Regions from separate parts of the Homo sapiens genome. Here region 1 is linked to region 2. The links are contacts of gene promoters, found by promoter capture Hi-C in human tissues and cell types (Jung and others, 2019). All regions are on one chromosome and are shown on one strand. Each heading gives the region's core, a stretch centred on a gene start or on the middle of the fragment in contact. The rest is flanking DNA. Distances are from core to core; before and after follow the strand shown. Region 1 holds the start of LOC124900423 (small nucleolar RNA SNORA72). Region 2 holds the start of SLC26A9 (solute carrier family 26 member 9).

The links. Contacts are between HindIII fragments. The study calls those that stand out against the background at their distance.
Region 1: a contact is called between a fragment that was not itself captured here and the fragment with the promoter of SLC26A9 in region 2, in 1 of the 25 tissues and cell types used here (dorsolateral prefrontal cortex).

The regions. Positions count from the first base shown.
Region 1 is chr1:205,728,998-205,736,255 of GRCh38, reverse strand. It overlaps NUCKS1 (nuclear casein kinase and cyclin dependent kinase substrate 1), which reads left to right. Exons shown (of 7, transcript NM_022731.5): 2 at 6,635-6,684. LOC124900423 (small nucleolar RNA SNORA72) reads left to right here and starts at 4,904; the gene lies at 4,904-5,035. The HindIII fragment of the contact is 6,338 bases long and covers 1,528-7,258 here.
Region 2 is chr1:205,940,517-205,948,329 of GRCh38, reverse strand. It overlaps SLC26A9 (solute carrier family 26 member 9), which reads left to right and starts at 4,874. Exons shown (of 21, transcript NM_052934.4): 1 at 4,874-4,965. All of the region lies in intron 2 of SLC26A9-AS1 (SLC26A9 and RAB7B antisense RNA 1), which reads right to left. The HindIII fragment of the contact is 4,976 bases long and covers 1,075-6,050 here.

The DNA.
Region 1 (7,258 bases), core at 3,447-5,946, 210 kb after region 2:
GGAGGGCTGGATGTGGTGGCTCATGCTTGTAATCCTAGCACTTTGAGAGGCCGAGAAGGGAGGATCACTTGAGGCCAGGAGTTCAAAACCAGCCTGGGAAACAGCAAGACTTGGTCTCTACAAAAAAAAATTTTTAATTTACTGGCTGTTGTGACACACACCTGTAATCTCAACTCCCCAGGAGGCTGAGTTGGGAGAATTGCTTGAGTCCAGGAGTTTGAGGCTATAGTGAGCTATGGTCACACCACTGCACTTCATGCACTCCAACCTGGATGACAGAGCAGACCCTGTCTCCAAAAAAAAAAAAGAGATATTTTGGTATTACATTTTAGTGAGATGAACAAGAAAACAAAGACAATCTTTCTGAATGATACTAGAACCAATACTTTTAAGACTTACATATTTTTCAACAAAGTGACTTAATCATCATATCCAAATAAGAGTTAGTTATGTGTTCAAAATTACAGTGGTATTCTGGGTGGAACAAGTTAATACTTATAAGTAATAATAGCTGTTATTGATATTTATATACCTTGCACAAATGTTCTGAAATGTTCTCAACACTCTTGTTATTCCTGTAACAGGTATTGTTATTCCTGTTTTACAGATGATGAGACTGAAGTTCAGTCAGGGGAAGTAACTTGCTTGAGGATATACAACTAGTAAGAGTCAGGACGTAAATTCAAGAATCTGTGTTTTTAACCTCTCTGCTATATTGAAATTTTATGCTGTCCTCCAGTTCTAGTTATTGATACTCATTTTACATTGAAGAGTTAGTTTAGCTTTGGCATTTAACTATCATGTGTCACATAGCACCAGGGATACATTCTGAGAACTGCATTTTTAGGTGATTTGCATGTATTTCCACAAAACCAGATGGTGTAGTCTCCTGCACACCTAGGCTGTATGGTATAGCCTATTGCTCCTAGACTACAAACATGTATAGCATGTTACTGTACTGAATACTGTAAGCAATTGTAACACAATGGTAGGTATTTATATATCTAAACATAGAAAAAGTACAGTAAAAATATGCTATAATAATCTTGTGAGACCATTGTCATGTATGCAGTTCACCATAATGTCATGCAGCACATGATTGTATTTTGAAGAAATTAGAATGTTTCTTTGTTTTCACCTAGAAATAGAACCTCTCATGCCCTGGGACTTAAATGAAATTCTTAAATGCTGGATTTCTGTCCTATCATCTCATTAGGAACAAATTCATCAAAAATGTATTTCAACCCCAGACAAAGCAAGCCTTTAAGTGGTGGAAATAGTATGTTATTTATATTATTTTGAATAAGCATCTTTAGGAGGCAGGACATTGTTTGGGAAATAAACTTTTTTATTTTTTTTTTGAGATGGAGTCTTGCTCTATCACCCAGGCTGGAGTGCAGTGGCACAATCTTGGCCCACTGTAACCTCCACCTTCCGGGTTCAAGCGATTCTTGTGCCTCAGCCTCCCGAGTAGCTGGGATTACAGGTGACCGCCACCACGCCTGGCTAATTTTTTGTATTTTTAGTGGAGATGGGGTTTCACCATGTTGGCCAGGCTGGTCTTGAACTCCTGACTTCAGGTGATCCACCCACCTTGGCCTCCCAAAGTGCTGGGATTACAGGCGTGAGCCACCAAGCCCGGCCTGAACCAAATTATTATGAGTCATTATGAGTCATCATGAATGGCCCTTGTTATCACAGATCTTTTATTTATTTATTTTATCTTTTCCCTCTTTAGCATTTATGGATGACTATATTTGTTTCTGACTGGTTGCCCTTAATAAGGCAGAATTGCTTCTATATTCATATTTTGCTTTACACTGATTTTATGGTATTTGTGATAAATGGCATATGAGATCATTCTGGCTGTTTTCAGATCATTGAAAGTTAAAATACTTCATATTTCAACGGAAGGGATAGTCTTTCAATTTAATTTTAAAATTTAATTGTTTATATAATGCCAATATAGTCTACATGGCATTTCTGTAGTTCTGTTTGTTGAAAAGTAGGATAGAAAAATATGTACTAAATAAAAAGTATCCTTTTTAGTGTCTTAGGTTTAAAGTAACAAGTTACAGGCCAGGCCTGGTGGCTCACACCTGTAATCCCAGCATTTTGGGAGATTAAGGTGAGAGGATTGCTTGAGGCCAGGAGTTTGAGACCAGCATGGGAAACATAGAAAGGCCCCGTCTCTACAAAAAAAAAAAATTGTTTTTAATTAGCCAGGCATGGTGGCTGTGTGCCTTTCTGTAGTTCCACAAGCTAAGGTGGGAGGATCACTTGAGCTCAGGAGTTGGAGACTGCAGTGAGCTATGACTGCCACTGCACTCCAGCCTGGATGACAGAACAAGACCCTGTCTCAATTGTTGGATGGATGGATGGGTGGACGGACAGATGGAAGATAGGTAGGTAGGTCTGTCTAGATAGATACAGATAGATATACAGGGAAGGAGGAGGAGATTAAGTTTTCTTCTGTTGTGGAGGGCAGTTAATTTTTAATGACAAATGCCATGAAAAACAGTATTGTGATCATAATGCAATATGATCATTTGCAGTGACCATTTTCTATATTATATTTTAATATAATGCCTGCCATTTATGTTATTTATTAAATATTTTATTTATTATTTAATTTATTATTTAAACATTTAATTTTATAGAATATCTTTTAGATCTGTCAAGCAATTTAGGTTATCAGTTCCAACAGAGGAAGAACTAAGGCCCAGAGAAATTACATGATTTTCTTGACATTCTAGAACCAGAACCCAGGATTCCTAGTACAAAGAGTCCATACTAATTCCTTTCTTGAGTGTTTCTAGTGATAGAGTAAGGAAGTAGCCATTGTTAGCAGACAGTTAAAGCTCTTTATGTTGAACCTACACTTAATGTGATTGCTAAAGCTAAGCTGTACCTCTACTACTCCTTTCACATCAAAGCCCTAAAGTAGCTAACATGTTTTCCCATTTTACAAGTTAAATATTCTCAATTTATTCATTTGTTCTTCATATGATATACCGTTTACCATTCTGGTTGTCCATCCTTATGTAGTTTCATAGGATATATCCATTGCTACGTCGTACCCAGAAATGGGGTAATAATATGTTAGTTGCCACCCCACAAGCATGGGATAAGCTAGAATTATACCTACAAGTTCGGAACCTGTATTTTAATTATTAGAGGATAAGATGTAAGAGTTCCTCTTCTAGATACCTTTCTTCCCCTGGTTCTATGACCCATTTTTTTTATCCTAAATAATACAGAAAATGGTCGTGTTTGCATTATGATCATCATACTATTTTTCATGGCATTTGTCATTAAAAAATCACTGTTTTGCCAGAACATGGCAGGCATTTCCATAGTAGCCCAAAAATATTAGATTTTTTCATAGTCATATTTTTAAGAAAGAAAATATATTTTTATTGTAATAAAATATGCTTAGCATAAAATTTACCATCTTAACTTTTTTTTTTTTTTTTGAGACAGAGTCTTGCTCTGTTGCCAGGCTGGAGTGCAGTGGTGCGATCCCTGCTCACTGCAACCTCTGTCTCCCAGGTTCAAGCAATTCTCCTGCATCAGTCTCCCAAGTAGCTGGCACTACAGGCACGCACCACCACGCCCAGCTAATTTTTGTACTTTTACTAGAGACGGGTTTTCACCATGTTGGCCAGGATGGTCTCGATCTTTTGACCTCATGATCCGCCCACCTTGGCCTCCCAAAGTGCTGGGATTACAGGCATGAGCCACTGTGCCCGGCCCATGTTAACCATTTTTAAGTGTATAGTTCAGTATTGTTAAGTACTTGACATTGTTGTAAAGAACTCTTAATCTTGCAAAACTGAAACTAAACCCACTAAACAACAGCTCCTCATCCCCACTCTTCCAGCCTCTGGCAACCACCACTCTACTTTCTGTCTCTCTGAATTCATCTACTCTAGGTCCCTCATGTACATGGAATTAATAGTCATATTTAAAGTTAGCTTTCCTAATAATATAGTATCTTTGGTAATATAAACTCAGCTTCTTACAATAAAATATATAGTTGGAGTATATTTTATAGTTTTGTTAAACTAAAGAAAAACAGAAGGTGGAACTCCTTAAGAGCCTTGTTTTTTCTCTTTCTAATGCTGAGTATGTAACTATATATTCCTCTACATATAAGCCCAAGCCTTTTTTTCCAGAATTCACCTCCATCCATACCATCTCCACATACTATACTAGAAGGTGGACCAGTGTTTGCAGTCTGACCATCCTGTCTTTGAATTTAAATGGTGTCTTAATCTATACAGCCAAGAATATCCCTCTGCTCAGGTTTAAGTATAGGTGGTAATGTATATTTATCTTAAATTTTTTTTTTTTTTTTGAGACGGAGTCTCTCTCTTTCGCCCAGGCTGGAGTGCAGTGGCGTGATGTTGGCTCACTCACTGCGAGCTCTGCCTCCCGGGTTCAAGCCATTCTCCTGCCTCAGCCTCCCGAGTAGCTGGGACTACAGGCGCCCGCCACCACACCCAGCTAATTTTTTAGTATTTTTAGTGGAGACGGGGTTTCACCACGTTGGCCAGGATGGTCTCAATCTCCTGACCTCGTGATCTGCCCGCCTCGGCCTCCCAAAGTGGTGAAATTATAGGCGTGAGCCACTGCGCCTGGCCTATTTCTCTTAATTTTTTAAGTTCACTTGATCAATTTAGGCCTACAGTAACAGTGCATTTTTTAATCTAAGGCTCTTTTGCCAGGTAGGCTGTTTGGGTACTAACATGGAAGCTTACATGTATATCTCTAGAGAAGAAGTATTAAACTTTTAGATTTAGAGTGCAGAGTACAAAAATAGAAATGAAGATTTGTTTGAGATGTTAAAGATACGTTACTTGATAGGGAGTACTTAAAGTCATTTAGAGTCAAATAGATTCTGCAGATATTCTCACTGTTTTGATTTTGTAATAGTCAGGACAGGCTAACCATTCACTTTATTAAGACCATGCATATATCCCCAGAACTAGTTCTTTCCTGAGGTCTAGTTTTATAAATGTTGCTGATAAACCAGGTCTGTAAAATTGGAAAAGGAAAAAAAAAGTTTAGAAACAAAAGAATAGAGTCAAATACATAGATGTACATAAATCTGTGAGGCTTTCATAGTTTTTTAAATAAAGCATCTTTTGACTGGACCAATTAATTTGTTTCCTTCCCCTTCTGTATAAAGCTTAACATTACCATAATTTTTGTGCATTATAATGTAACTGTACTATACCTAAAAATTGCTTTTGCCTTGAAAAGCTTAGTAATAACCTTGTTTATCAAGTATACATATATATGTGTGTAGCAGTAAGAGTAAAATATCATTTACAACTTTAGCTTATAAATAGGGCATCTTTGTATATAATGAATACATAGGTACATGGTGATTTGGCTCATTTTGCTGTTTTATGTATATTTGTTTTGAGAGACGGGAGATTGTTTTGTAGAAAAGAATGGTATTTGAGACCGGGCACGGTGGCTCACGCCTGTAATCCCAGCACTTTGGGAGGCCAAGACGGGCGGATCACGAGATCAGGGGAGACCAGCCTGGCCAACATGGTGAAACCCCGTCTCTACTAAAGATACAAATATTAGCCAGGCGTGGTGGCACACGCCTGTAATCTCAGCTACTCGGGAGGCTGAAGCAGGAGAATCGCTTGAACTTGGGAGGCAGAGGTTGCAGTGAGCCAAGATCTCGCCATTGCACTCTAGCCTGGGCGACAGGGCAAGACTTCATCTCAAAAAAAAAAAAAGAGAGAGAAAAGAATGGTATTTGAATTATCACTGAGATGAGCAGTATGAGAATTGTAGCTTGACATACTTGTGGTTTATGCTATGCTTTCTTATAACAGAATGTTAAGTACTTAGGCTTAAGTGGGGGCCTTTAAAAAATAATTTTTGGCTGGGTGCAGTGGCTCGTGCCTGTAATCCCAGCACTTCGGGAGGCTGAGGCAGGATGACTACCTGAGCTCAGGAGTTTGAGACCAGCCTGGGCAACACCAGGAGACCCTGTCTCTACAAAAAATGAAAAAAAATTAGCCAGCATGCGTCTGTAGTCCCAGCTACTCAGGAGGCTGAGGCAGGCGGATTACTTGGGCCCAGTAGGTCAAGGTTGCAGTGAGCCATGATTGTGTCACTGCTCTCCAGCCTAGGCGACAGAGTGACACCCTGTCTCAAAAAATTAATTAAATAATTTTCTTTTTTTTTCTTTTCTTTTTTTTTTTTGAGATGGAGTTTCACTTTTGTTGCCCAGGCTGGAGTGCAATGGAGGTATCTCGGCTCACCACAACCTCTGACCCCTGGGTTCAAGTGATTCTCCTACCTCAGCTTCCCAAGTAGCAGGGATTACAGGCATGCACCACCACGCTTGGCTAATTTTGTGTTTTTAGTAGAGACAAGGTTTCTCTATGTTGGTTAGGCTGATCTCAAACTCCCAACCTCAGATGATCCACCAGCCTTGGCCTCCCAAAGTGCTGGGATTACAGGTGTGAGCCACCACGTCCAGCAATTAAATAATTTTCAAAGTGCTAGTTCAGTTCTGTTTATGAAAGAGAAATGTGTGTTCTGATGTCTTAGAAAAATCCTACAGTTTTATGATTTTAATTAGAGTCTCTTCTTTCTACAGAAATAGGAAGGTTGTTGATTACTCACAGTTTCAGGAATCTGATGATGCAGGTAAGTTTTGTGGTTTCAACAAATTTTAAGTTGGACTGACCAGTGGAGGTTACCAGCTTATATAGTTTTATTATGCTTTTGGAATAAGTTTTACTTTTTTATTTTTAGATCATTTACCAAAACCATGTCATGATCTGTGTCAACCAAAGCAAAAGTTGAACTTACATGGATTTTAACTTTTCCTTGGTAAATCATTGATAATAAACATTAAAAAGCTTTTTTCTTACCTGGTTTTGGAGTCCAAAGTTTAAATGTCCAGTAATTCTGATACAGTGTTCATTGCTTAAAATATCTCCTGCTGTCAGCCAGTCGCCATGGCTCATGCCTGTAATCCCAGCACTTTGGGAGGCCAAGGTGGGCGGACCACTTGAGGTCAAGAGTTCCAGACCATCCTGGCCAACATGGTGAAACCCCATCTCTGCTAAAAATACAAAAATTAGCCGGGAGTGTTGGCATGCACCTGTAATCCCAGCTACTCTGGAGGCTGAGGCAAGAGAATCGCTTGAACTCGGGAGGCGGAGGTTGCAGTGAGCCGAGATGGCGCCACTGCACTCCAGCCTGGGCAACAGAAAGA
Region 2 (7,813 bases), core at 3,625-6,124:
CCACCTGGAACTCACCTCCTCCTTAGCTCTAGCCCCAGTCTCAGCATTCCCAGGGCAGTGTGAACTGCCCTGAACACCCTCACCCAGGCCAATTTCTGGTTCTGAGCAGAATCATTTCCTCTTTCTAGAAGCTGCAGGACCCGCCCACCTAGGAGTTGTATCCTCCTGGGCTCCCAAGCCCTGACACTGCAGACCTGCTTCCCCCACACCCCCAACCCCAACCCTAAACCACTCCTAAAGGAGTGCCGAGTTCAGATGGGCAGAACAGTCCCTCTGCAGCGGCAGCTGGCATATGCCCACCTCGGAGCCCAGGGTGTGTCTGGGTAATGACCGAATGGGGAGTGGGAGGAGGTCCCCACATGACTTCTTGCCCTCTTTGTGGAGAGAGGGCTCGGTTTGTGCTCCAGGGCCAGGGTGGAGGGATAGGATGGGGTCCTGAAGCAGGCACCGACCTGAGCCATCTCCTCAGCTCTGCCATTATCTCTCTCTCGGTGACTTTGGGCAGGTCCCTGGCCCCCTCATATGTAAAATGAGGGAGGTGAACCAGATGGACCCTAAGGCCCCTTCCTTGTCTCCCGTTCTATGGTTTGTGCCACGTCCTTTCCTCCGGCCTCAGATGTGCAGGGATCATGGTCAATGCTGACCTGACTGTCTCCAGACAAGAACTGTCCAGACCCTCGCCACCTCAGAGTCCACCCTAAGCTTCCTCCTAACATATTGTCCCCCAGCTCTGTCATTGTGTGTATTCTAGAAGCCTCCTCTGCCTGCTCCTGCCAGGGTCTTGATCTCCCAAGGACTGGTTCTCACTGGGTCTGGCGTGCCCAGTGCCTAGCACAGTGCTGGGCACATGCTAGGAGTTCCCTGTGTTGAAAGACCAAGCACTGGCTGGCATCACCCTACTCACCTTGCCTTCCATGTCTCCTGACCAGCCTAAGATACTCACAGCTGGGGTACTTGAGCCCCTGGGCTTCCCAGGGGAGAGAAGTGAGGATTCGCTTCTCCTTGGGTACCTCTGCAGTCCCACCAGTCCTCAAGCACTCATGAAACTGGCAGCCGCGCAGGGCCAGGCCAGATCCTGCCACTGCAGGGCAGGGTGGTGAAGACTTTGCTGTCTTTAGCCTTAAGGTATTTGCTTAAGTCATTGGGCTGCTCTGCCCAAAACATGTTTCTGCCCACACCCTTGGCACCCACACAGGGCACACGTGCAAGAAGCCAGCAGGTGCAGATAAGACCAGAGGCTCAAGGATAGACAGAGGTGGCAGAATTTGTCTCCTTTTTGCAGGTCTAGCCTGAGTTTGCTCATCTGAAAAATAGCTGTTTCTTAGCAAGATCAGCTCAGAGGTGAGATGTGTCAGGAGGGAACCTTAGGAATACTTTGGGTTTATCTGCATAACTCAGTGTTACGTGTGACTGTTCAGTGTGACTGTGTGTGTGTGTGGTCGCAAGCTTTGGATCACAGGGGAACACAGGGATGGGCTTTAAGGCAGAGAATCTTGGGTGCGTTCAGAAGTCAAAGAGGACTTGGGAACAAGCTGGAAATCCCTTCTAGAAACAGTGCTTTCAGGGGCAGCCGCCATCCTACTTCTTCCTGGGAGTCCTTCCCCACCTGGGGTCTATAGCTCAGGTGTCCAGGCTACAGCTGTGACTGAGCTTCCTGCCCTCCTCTTGTTGGAAGACTTCCCGGCTCCTTCTCTGTCCGCTGGAGGGCTGATCTGGGCACCTCTCCCCTGTACTCCCATAGCACCCTATGTTCCATGCTACAATGGTTTCTTCGCCTTCCTGTCTTCCTCACCAGATTGTGAGATATTTTCATGACAGAGATTGTGTCTGATTTATTTCATTTTCCCCAGGACAGGATCCTGGCACTTGATAAGGGGTTTCCAGTGAATGAATAAATGAATGAATGAATGCAGCATCCCACCCTAGGGCTGGGGGTGAAGTAGGTTGCTTCCGAAGGATTCTCTCTCCTGCTCCAGAGAGAGGCATAGGGTTGCTGTTCATCGCTTTCATCATGAAACACAAATGATTTAGCAAAACTCTAGGCTGAGCTGCTATGGCTGTTAATGTGTCCTTGGCTCCTTTCTCTGTTTCTGAGTCTTTGTCTCCATCATTTTTCTCTGTGTTTCTATTTCTGTCACCTATCTCTCCATATCTTTGTGTTCCCTCCACCAACCCTAAATTTGTCCACACTTTAATTCTACCCAAGATACCCCTAAGATGCCTTTTCAGCCATCGGGGCACTCCCCCTTCTGTCTTCTGTTTCCCTAGCCTCTGATCTGGTTTCCTCCTTCCTGGGCCTCCCACCAATGACCAGCCCCAGATTCTGAGGCCCCTGTCCATCTTCCTTGGTGACTTCAGAGGAATCTCTGGGTTCGTCTATCCCTACTGCCCCTATAATGCAAGGGCTACCTGCCCAGAATTTTGCTGAGACAGTAGAAAAGTTTTGAGGAGGACAAACAACAAGTTTCCAATTCCAGCATGTATCCTGGAGGCCCCAGACGTCTTCATCCAGGTTACATTAGGAGTTATACCAGCAAGGGAGCCTAATGGTATCTAAAAGGTATGGTCTTTTGTAGGATCTCATCCTTAGCTTCGCAGGCTCAAAGGTTAAGATGATATCGTAGACTAAGCAGAGGATTTGAAGCCATTTTAGCCAAGTTAGATTCCTGCCTCTTCCATTCAGATCTTTGTGATCTTGGATAAGTGATTTCACTTCAGTCAACTCAGTTTTCTCATCAAAAAATGACAGTAACATGCCTATATGTTTGGTATAAGAATTAAACCAAATCACCTGTGGGAAAACCAAGTGTTACTGTGGAAACTAGGTCAGACTCAGGGGATACTAACTCACATTAATAAAACTCACACTGGACCAATGGGTAGCCCAGAATGTCCATGGGTCATTTAAAAGAGAAGCATGCCTGCAAAAGCAGCCCTAGTCGCTCCAACCAGCTGGGCAGTGCATTCTCTGCCCTAAAGGACATACAACCAGAAGATTCCCTGGTGGACATGGTGTCTCAGCAAGGGGACTTAGTTGTTTGATCTTGATAGCCACTGTCACCTGGCTATCGGAAGAACATAATGACTCATCTGCTTTCTAGGAATTTCCTGGGCAAAGTTTAGAACAGGTCAGGCTACCCATGACACTGGACAATACTGAAGATGCATGGACAAATTCTCGCCCTCTGGCTTTGCTTTGTTTAAAGACTCTATCATACAATTGTTCATTCATTCCTCAAATCTATATTGAGCTCCTCCTAAGTGCCGGGCACTGGGCTAGGTGGGTAGGGATACAAAAGAGGCACTGCCCCCTTGCCCTCCTCAGGGAGTTCACGGTGTTTGCAGAAAGACTGACAATTCCATACATAATTACCATTAATTGTGGTCAGTGTTATGAGAGTGAAGCAGAGGAAGCCAGAGGAACGAATGTGCAACATGTCAGCTAAGTCCACATAGGGGTCTGGGGAAGGGCTCCCCGAGGCAGTGTCCATGCACACATCCTTCCCTCAGCCAGGTGTCAGGGCACACTTGGGTCACTTGAATTCTGGCTCTCTTCAGCCAGTTGTCTGGCTACACCCTGACAACTCTGAGTGACCTCGGGTGTTTCCCTAGTCCCCACAAGCAATGCATCTACAAACTATCCCTTGGGTTGGGCTTGCAGACAATTCACTCTTTCATTCATTTAACAAATATTTATTGAGTCCCTATTAAGTACTGAAGCTAGCTCATTTCACCATGGGGAACTTTCGCCCCAACTTCCAGAGGTGCCTTACTGAAGCCCCCTGCACTGATTCCAGCCCACTTCAGAGCCTCTGGTTTCTTTTGGAGAGATGGGAGGACAGTTGAGGACGAGGACAGTGCAGCACTTGATGTCTCAAAGAATGGGCACCTGGTGTCGGGTAGTGACTCTCCCTCCCAGGAAGTAAATTAAGAAACTCCCCTACCCACCCTCCCAGCCCCTGTCCACAATTGCTTTCTGAGGTCCTTCCGTAGCACTCAATGGGCCTGGGATGGGCAGCTCTGCTGGCAGCAGCCGGAGCAGTGCCATGACCCAGGGAGACATTAATTCCTAGAAGCGGCAGAGGGCTGTGACTGGAGATTTGCTAGCCTTCAGGTCGCCTCTCATATAATTGTTCTAAGTCCAGTTTCTTGAGCTCTTTTATCAGATTCTAAACCCCTGTGTTCTCTTTGCACACTACCTGAGGGGCCAGGAATAATTTCCCCCATTGCACTGATGGATAGACCAAGGCACAGAGCTCACAAGCAACTTAACATTGGGGACAGAACTGGGAACCAGGTCTCCACCACAAACCAAAACCGCCTAAAGGCTCCCAGGGCCTCCCAGACATGGTTCTTCCCCTTCCTCAGGGGTGTTCAGAGGACTACTGTCTTCCCACCCCCTAGATCTCCAATCTTCAAAGCAAGCATCCCCAAGAGCACACCCCTCAGGTGGCCTCAATAGCTCCCATTGTCCAAGAGGCTCTTTGGCCTGACCCCCAGCCCCATAAGCAGCAGGACAGCAAGCTCAGAGGAGCTTGTCCTGCCTTGTCCCCCTCCTCTGCCTCGTCCCCCTCCTCCAGGGCCGCCTTGGGGGAGCCGGTGGGGCAGGAGCCCCGCTGAATGTGACCTATTGTCTTCGGGGTGGATTTAGGAAGTGCCAAGCTCCCATCACACAGCCCTGCTCCCCAGGTAAAACAAAAAAAGGGCTGTTCATTTGGGACCTTTTCCCCCTTATCTCCTTTTCCTATCTCCTCAGGCTTAGCTATGGTGTAGTGTTCAAAACCACTTCCCCTCTGAGCCAATCAGAAGCCGGGGCTCACCCCGTGGCCCTGAGGAAAAGTTATTTATAAACGCCTCCCTGGATTATTTGAGCAGAGCCCTTTCACACACCTCAGGAACACCTTTCGGCTGCCCGCTCCCCAGACACACCTGCAGCCCTGCCCAGCCGGCTTTGCTCACCCACTGGTAAGCCCCACCCAGCCCAGCCCACCCCACTGGGCTGGGGTCATCCCTGCAAGAGGGCAGTCACCAGGGGTACCGAGAGGAGGGATGACAGGAACCAACTGCCAAGCTGAGCACAAGTAGGAAGGACACTCTGGCCCCTGGAGTCTGAGAGCAGCCTCCCAGCCCTTCCCCTCTGAGGAGCCCTTTGGGTCTTCACGTCTATGTAAGGACCTGGGCTGCAAGGCTGGGCTTGACTGAGGGAGCAAGTAGGGTGAGGGTGTGGTGGTCGCCAGACCCCGAAACAGAGCGAGGCAAAGGCCTCCGAGGGAAAGGAAAATGTTAGACCTTCCTCCGCGACAGCCTTTGAAGCTGTGGGCTGCTCCTCTCCCTTTCTTTTCAAGTCTTGGAGGGAAAAGCTCTTAATGCTTGACTCACCAGCCTACTCTGCATGGCTGTCTCCCCCTCCTTCTACCGCCCAGACATCCTCCTTCACTCATGTACTTCTCCACCAGCTCGGGGAACTTAGCATGGACTACACAGAATCCCATGTGTCCCCATTAGTCCTGAGAAGTTGGAAGAGGTGGAGGGGGAGGAAACTGAGGAGTGGGAGAGGGTGAGCAAGGGACCAGCTCCATCAGGCAGGCGGGTGGGCGGTAGCTGGACCTGGGACGCCCGACTCAATGGTGAATGCTTCAACACAGAAGGGCTTGGGCCAGGACAGTGGATGGGCAGCCAGCTCTCCAGGCTCTCAGCCTCCAAACCCCTCATCCTGCAGCTCCAAGGGGTTCCAAGCCACTCTCAGGCAGTGCCCCCATTCCTCAAAACCAGCCCAGAGGGTCCCCAGCTGAGACCTAACAAAGCTTCTATTATTCCAGCATCAACTGCCCCCTTACACTTGGCCCCACGGGTCTGAGGACCAGAAGACCCTGGAGTGACGCAGCCCCCCAAGTGGGCAGACTGAGAGAGGGCTTTCCCCCTGAGTGGCTTCACTCATGCAGATGACCCTTTCTCAGAACCCCACAGTCCTCCCCCACCTCCCTCATCCTGGCCCTGGCATCCAGAACCTGGCAAGACCCTGCTTGGGCAGCATGGAGACCAGCATGGCCAAGAGCACCTCCACTGCCAGGAAGGCCTTCCCAGGCACTTCCCAGAGCTAGCCACCTGCTCTCTGAGTCTCATTTGTATAAACCCTGGGGCAGAGACGGACTCCTCTTTATCTTTTAATGCCCAGAGTCTTCCGGAGATTGGCATATACCCAGTATTCAAGAGTGCCTCTTAAACCGTACTAAACAGCCAGACTGACCCCCGTGAACTTGCTGGGGGAATCGAGGACCAGCTCAACACTGACCAAGCTTTGGGGGCTGTGGGGTCACTACTTGGAAGATGGAAGGGGCAGAGCCACCCCTTCAAGGGGAGTTGATCTTCACTGGATGCCTCTCTGGGCTTTCGCCTGGATTTCTGGGACCAGAGCAGCTGGGCCCTTCACTGGTCTCCTTGCCCAGGCCCTGCTTCCAAGTGAAAGCAACCCCAGTCTCCTTAAAGACTTCTAGGAATTTAACCTCAAGTGCCCATTCCAGGGAGCCCATGACCTTGTCAGTCTTGCTGTTAGGAAGTGATTCTCAAAGTCTAGCCTTGGTCCCTCTTTCTGGAGCCTATTTCCTCAGCCCAGCACCCATTCCCAGCAGGGAAAGTGCAGAGGAGGGAGAGTTCGCCTGGAGATAAGGAGTGGGGATTTGGGGGGTGGTATCAGTGAATCTCTCTCCTACACGGGATGCAGTCTCTAAGACACCTTAGGGACATCTCATCCTCCCCTACACTGAGGAGGAAATTAGGCTGGGGTGAGGAGTAGGGAGAGATTTGCCCTGGAAACACAGGGACAGTAGAAGGAAAAGGAGTGTTTAAAAATGCCTTGGGGGGCTGGGCGCAGTGGCTCAGCCTGTAATCTCAGCACTTTGGGAGGCCAAGGAGGGCAGATCACTTGAGGTCAGGAGTTCGAGACCAGGCTGGCCAACATGGCGAAACCCCGTCTCTACTAAAAATATAAAAAATATTAGCTGGGTGTCATGGCGCGCACCAGTAATCCCAGCTCCTAGGGAGGCTGAGGCAGGAGAATTGCTTGAACCCAGGAAGTGCACCCTGTGGTGAGCCAAGATCGTGCCACTGCACTCCAGCCTGGGTGACAGAGGGAGACTCCACCTCAAAAAACAAAAACAAAAAAACAAAACAAACAAACAAAAAAGCCTTAGGGGTGCAGAGGCCTCTACATCCTTCCTCCTCCTGCCATGGATGTGGTCTCCCACTGAGACCCCAGCCAGCTTGTCTGTCCCAGCTCACATTCACACCTGGGTCACTCAGAGGCTGCTCTTACCCTGTGGCCCCCACCCTGGATGAGGCAGGGAGGCAACCAGCAGCTAGAGCAAAGGGGAAACCTCAAGGTGACCTTTCCTCTTCCCAGAACACAGCAACCGGCTGGCTAGGAACCAGTGATAAGGATGCCAGGGTGGGTTGGCCCAGCCGGGGCTGTTCCCGTACCTGGCACACATGCGTCAAAAACCCCCTCCCTCACATGCACACCCCCGACAGGACTGAGGGAGGAAGTCAGCCTGGCCCACAGTGACAGGATCACCTCCAGATCCAACCAAAACCCACAAATGGACCCCTCACAGTCCTGCTCTGCAGATGTTCTACCCTCTTCTGACAAGATTTTCTGCTGTTCCTCTCATCAAGTCCTGGGAAAATTTGGAGGGGTTAAGGCATGGGGCAGCAGGTATAGGGGCAGATGGAAAAAGGCAAGCCAAAAAAAGGCAGAGTGCCCACTAGAGATGGCAGAGCAAGAAAGAGGCTCCTCTGGAGTCATAGCAGTAATGAT